2 separate regions of the Homo sapiens genome follow, and region 2 is linked to region 1. Evidence: promoter capture Hi-C in human tissues and cell types (Jung and others, 2019). All regions are on one chromosome and are shown on one strand. Each heading gives the region's core, a stretch centred on a gene start or on the middle of the fragment in contact. The rest is flanking DNA. Distances are from core to core; before and after follow the strand shown.

What was found. The method cuts DNA at HindIII sites, captures the fragments that hold promoters and counts their contacts. A contact is called where the count stands out against the background at its distance.
Region 2: a contact is called between a fragment that was not itself captured here and the fragment with the promoter of ARID3C in region 1, in 1 of the 25 tissues and cell types used here (neural progenitor cells).

The regions. Positions count from the first base shown.
Region 1 is chr9:34,627,601-34,630,478 of GRCh38, forward strand. ARID3C (AT-rich interaction domain 3C) reads right to left here and starts at 1,466. Exons shown (of 8, transcript NM_001017363.4): 1 at 1,317-1,466; 2 at 97-486. The coding sequence starts at 414. RefSeq lists silencers at 1,275-1,374, 1,425-1,584. The HindIII fragment of the contact is 10,650 bases long and covers 1-2,878 here.
Region 2 is chr9:34,574,817-34,577,694 of GRCh38, forward strand. All of the region lies in intron 2 of CNTFR (ciliary neurotrophic factor receptor), which reads right to left. All of the region lies in intron 1 of CNTFR-AS1 (CNTFR antisense RNA 1), which reads left to right. Among named protein-coding and RNA genes, the nearest start is that of CNTFR-AS1, 8.2 kb to the left of the region's middle. The HindIII fragment of the contact is 3,588 bases long and covers 1-2,878 here.

The DNA.
Region 1 (2,878 bases), core at 216-2,715:
GTGGTGGGGGTGGGTGGGCTGCTAATCACCTGGCTGTGCTTTTGCCAGAAGAGAGAGATAGGGAAGAGGGCCGGACATTGAGGGCATAGGTCCTACCTGCTTGAATTGTTCCTCGTAGGTCCACTCGTGGGGATGGAGTCCAGGGGGCTGGCTAGAAGGCGAGCTGGGGCCCTGGGCCCCTGGACGGCTCTCCTCAGCTGCCTCCTCCTCTGCCCCGGCTTCCTCCCGCTTCTCCTCATCTTCTTCAGCATCTTCCTCTTCCTCAGCCCCAACATTCCCCAAGGCCCCCTCAGGGGCCTGTAGGGTCCGGTGGTCAGGCAGGGGAGGCTGCGGTGGCAGCAGCGGGCATGCAGGGGCCAATGGCCCCACCCCCTGGGCCAGCCGAGCTGCCTGCTGCTTCTGCAGGGCCTCCATGACAGCTTCCAGGCGCAGTCCCCCAGCTGAGGGGGTCCCTGGTACCAGGCGGGACCCCGAGGAAAGGGCCGCCTGTGGGGGAGGGAATTATGGGTGCTGGGCCCTACTGCCCCCAGAGCCCCCCAACACAGGGGGAGGTGGTCATGGATTCAGGGAAGTGCAGGGGTCACAAGGAAAGAGGCAGAAAGATGGCTTTCCCAGAGGTGAACAGAAACAGGACCAGACCCGGGGAATCAAATGGCCATTGACTGAGGACTGGAAGAGTGAGCAGATCAGAGAGGGTGACGGGGACCAAGAGACATCGGGAAATGGTGAAGGAAGGGAGAGAGAAAGAAAAGGAGAAGGGGGATGTCCGACAGAGACAATGACAGGGAGATGTGAAAATAGAGATGGAACAGGGTGACAAGGAGAGACAGAAGTGGGGTGACACAGAGACTGAGAGGGACCAAGATGGAGAGAGGCAGAGGTATCAGGCAGAGACAGGGTAGACAGACAGAGATGGAGAGAGATAGAATATTGGGTAGAGAGACAGGGAGGGTAAGAGAGGTAGAGGAGCAACAGATAAAAGACCTAAGTGACAGGTAGCTCAGAGACGGACAGAGACGGAGAGACAGAGGCGGAGATAGACAAATAGACAGGGGTTGAGATATAGGGAAAGACCAAGACAGCAGGAAACGGACAGAAGAGAGAGATTAGAAAGAGACAGTTAAATAGAGAGGGACCGACAGAGACAGGGACGGGAAAAACAGCCGGAGAGAGGGGCAGAGGACAGGGACCAAGGAGTCGCGGGGATGGAGGGCGGTGGGGCAGAGCCTGGGACGGGCACGGGACCGGACGGGCAGGAGGCGGCAGAGTCGCGACGCCCGGCTCCCTCGCTCCGGGCGCCCCGCGGCCGCACTCACCTGCCTGGCGTGGCCCGCTGCCCCTGGCGTCTCCACGGCGCTGCCTTTGCTCCGCCCGCCTCCCAGGCGGCCCTGGCCTCGGCTGGGTCCCGGCGGTGCGCTCCCGCCGCCCTGTGCTCCTCTGGCGGCTGTGCGCTCACTCGCCGCGCTGCTTGCGGCGGCCGCGGGGGCGGGACCCGAGCGGGGCAGGGCGGGCGGGGCGCATGGGGAGAGGCCCCTGTGGGATCTGCCGCTCTCAGCTCCCCAACAGGTGTCTCCCACCTTCTTTCCAGCCAGCTTCGGGGGCAGGGGGCGCTGGAAAGCTGCGGGGGAATCGTGCGAAAATGAGGGCTCTACCGCCACCGGACTCCGGACCAGAGCCCCGCCCAGCCTCACAAGTCGTGCCCCCGACACCCACACTCGGCACTGGGCTTCCACATACAAATAGCCGCATCCACACACCAACACACCTTGTCACAAGTTCAGGCGCATAGCTTCCCAGTCTCACACGTTCCGTGACATGGTCACCACAGTGCCAATGGCCTGGGCACGCTGTGATCAAGAGGGGAATCCCTCTGCAAGATGCTGGGGTGTGCGTGGAGGGTCTGGTCAGAATAGAAGCTTCTCCCTTTGCCTTGAGCACCCCTGCCCTGCCTACGTGCTGTCCCCCACTGCGGGCATGCTGCGGTTTGCACACATGAGTGCACATGGTGGTGGACCCACACCTATGCACTCACACACTCTCAGAGGTCTTTAAGCTGACTGCACACTCACCGCATGCAGATACACAGCCACACACAGTTTTTGTCTCTTTTGACATTCTATTATGGAAATTTTCTTTTCTTTTCTTTTTCTTTCTTTTCTTTTTTTTCTTTTTTGGAGACAGAGTCTCTGTCACCCAGGCTGGAGTGCAGTGGCGCGATCTGGGCTCACTGCAGCCTCCGCCTCCCAGGTTCAAGTGATTCTACTGCCTCAGCCTCCCGAATAGCTGGAATTAGCTGGGATTACAGGCGTCCACCACCAGACCCGGCTAATTTTTGTCTTTTTAGTAGAGATGGGGTTTCACCATTTTGGCTAGGCTGGTCTCGAACTCCTGACCTCAAGTGATCCACCCACCCTGGCCACCCACAGTGCTGGGATTACAGGCATGAGCTACCGTACCCAGCCTGTATTATGAAAATTTTGAAACATAGACAAGTGAATAGTATAATGAACCTCTGGTACTCATCATAGGTTTGTTTCAACAGTGACCGGCACTTCGCCCATGTTCACACACATTCTCCACCTATGTGTGCCTGACTGCCACATCTGTATCTCCAGACCCCCTCAGCCCACTGCTTTGCGCCCTCCCCCTAACTATTCCCAAGACGCTGAAATGCTGTTCCTTATTTGGGGGTTCTGAGTGGCAGGCCTCTCAGAATTTCTGCTCTGAACAGCCTGGACCCCACTCCTCCCGGGAATCCTCATACTTCCTATTTCTTCCTGTGCCCAAGGGGACCACTTACCAAACAGAGGGACACTGTGAGGTGATGCCAAGTGTGTAAGTGAACAGCAGGTGTCTGTAGGGGTGACACTTGGCATAG
Region 2 (2,878 bases), core at 206-2,705, 53 kb before region 1:
CAGCATGTGCGTGCCCTGCTGCACGTGTGTGCGGGCGTGTTGTTGGGGGAGCCTGGGGCCCTCCCATGATGGGCCTGGCTGGGCAGCTGGGGAGGCATCCTGGGGAGAGAGGAATCTGTCACCAGCCTGTGCCCACATGTGGAGGCCCACTTGGGGCCCCGCATGCTGCCTGGTGACCTGGGCATGGGCTTGTATATGCACATACATGCAGGCCTGTGCTTAAGTAGCCCTCTAGATGCAGAAGGCCTGGGCTTTCACCCTCAAAAGTCATCTGGTCCAGCCCCCTGCCTCTTGAATGGAGAGGAGGAAGGGGCAGATAAGTTCGTATCCTCCCTTTGGACACATAGGCTCTGGAGAGCTTCACAGAACCTGAGGTACTGGTGCCAAATCCCCCAGCCCCCAACCCCAGTCCAGTCTCTTCTGGCTTCCAGAAGAATCAGGAAGCCCCCTCCACCCAGGAAAGGCACACACACCAGTTAGGCTAAGTCTGTGGGGAGCGGGGTACTGCTCCTCTTGTAGGGACAGAACGCTGTAGCACATTAGACAGCTGGAAGAACTCAACGAAAGGCAGGGGATGGGCAGAGCAATAGGGTTGACTGAGACTTCCCTTAGCAGGGGGGTGGGGTAAGGAAAGGCCCGAAGCGGACGCCGGGGACAGGAAGGAGGCTGCAAGGCAGGGCCCTCCGTGGAGACAAGGATGGATAGAATGGCTTTCCAGAGTTGGAGATTAGGACAAAGACCTATTTGCCTCAGCATCTCCTACCACACCCACCCCTGGCCCCATCACTGCTATGGTGCAGACACACCCTTGAATCCATACACAGAGGCCCATGCAAGCAAGCTCACACACACACCCACCCACCCACCCACCCACACACACACACACCCCGGGGGGTGGGGGCAGCAGTGCATGTGATGCATCGGCTTATAACAAAAAAAACCTGAAGATGGTCGTTCTGACAGAGCCAGAGTTGGGTGGGGGGAAAAGAAGCTTCAAATGTCTTCTGTGTTCTGTTCTCTCTGCCCCCTAACGTGCATATGCACCATGCACGCTACTTCTGAGGAGCCTCCTGGTCTGCTGGGCAAGACCGAGCCATCCTTCCTCCCCTTTCCTCCCCTCCTCACAGTGGGGAAGCCACAGCAATCTGTTCCTGATGGGTAAACACAGGCGTGAGTACGTGCACACACGTGCTCACACACACACCAGCCACTCAGGCCACAGAGCACCCAGCGCTCACTTCACCCCGAGACAGAGCACACACTTGGGCTCTCACTACACCCGGCAGAGCTCTCAAAGCCCCCGCCTCCTCAGACACACAGGGCCAGAGCTTCACAGACACACCCAGGCAGCCTCTCGCAGACACTGGCATTCAGAGCCTACCATCGTGGCCACACATCAGGGCCTCCCACATGGACACCCACTCCCACAGCCCCGTACACGCTGGTGTGCGTGCACACATTACAGTCACACTCACACACACAGACTCCCTCACACAGCCATGGTCTCACATATGGATACCATCACACACTCCGAACAGTCAACCTTCCACACAGACACCATTGTACACTTCCAGAAGCTCAGGGCCCCCAGTCGCCCTTGGCCTCTCACGCCCCGACACCGGCAATGGGAAACACCCACATACACACCCTGAACAGCCACACTGTGCCAGCACCTCAGGTTGCCTAGCCGTGCCTGAGGGGAGGGACAGAAAGCCTAGGGATGCCTAGGGCAGGAAAGAAAAGGAAAGGAAATACTTCGTTGGTCCCTAAAAAGTGAGAAAATAAATGATTATTCCCCAGGCAGCTCCTTCTTCCCCAAACCCTGCTTTCAACAGCATTAGGGAATGAAGGGAGATCCATTCCAGACAGGAGAGGTGAAGGAAGTACCTGGGGGAGACAGATGGTGGCACTGGAATCAGCAAGAGCCAGAAAGGCCCAGAAATCAGCCGACTTCCCAGGCCCTTGCTGCCTTCCCTCATCACCCTCTCTTCCCCACGATGCGGATCGGCAGCAGCTCTCAGCCTAGCTATCTGCTGTGTGATCCCAAGGCCTCTTCAAAACCTCTATGTGCCCATAACTGTCTAGCGGGCACCCAGATGTCTGGCCTGGCTGCAGAAAGGGCAGGAGAAGGGAAGGAGATGAGACCTCCACTCCAGCCCCCCAGCCCCCACCAAAGCCCTGGCATCACTGTCAGCCCACAGAGAGGTAGGGCAGATGCCCAGCAGCAGGAGGGGAGCAGGCAGAGCCAGCGGTGCTCCTCTAACTAACCACTGAGGAGGAGAGTCCTAAGGTGTCCTTGGACCCTGCAGCCCCGCCCCCATCACTGGAGGAGTAGACGCGGAGTCGCTGTCCAGTCAGAATGGAATCCAGGCTGTGCTGGCCAGGCCCCAGCCCAGGAAAGATCGGCAATGCTGCAGACATCCTTGCCACTTGCCACTCCAGGTGTAGCTGGGGCCCTGATGCCTCCATCCTAAAAGGAGCCTGACGTGACTCCACGGAAGACAGGCAGGACCTAAGGAAACCAGGCAGGGGTAATGCCATAAAGCCAGGTGATAGGGACTTCGGGGAAGGGGGCAGTGGGGACAAAAGAAACCAGGCAGCAGGGTGTAAGGAAACCAGGTGACAGGGCCCCAAAGAAGGTAGGTGGTGGGAGCCAAATGAAATCAGGCAGTGGGGACTAAAGTTAGCTAGGAGGTGTGGACAAATGAAGCCAGGCTTTGGGGATCAAATGAAACCAGGCAAGAGGCCCACAGGATGTGAGAAAAGAAAGATATCAGGAGCTCATCCCCTCTGTCTAGATGTCACCCCCACACGCTGGGCCTCTCTCTCTGTAGCCCCCCTTCCACTCAGGCGGTGGTCCCCTCCCCCAGGCCAATGG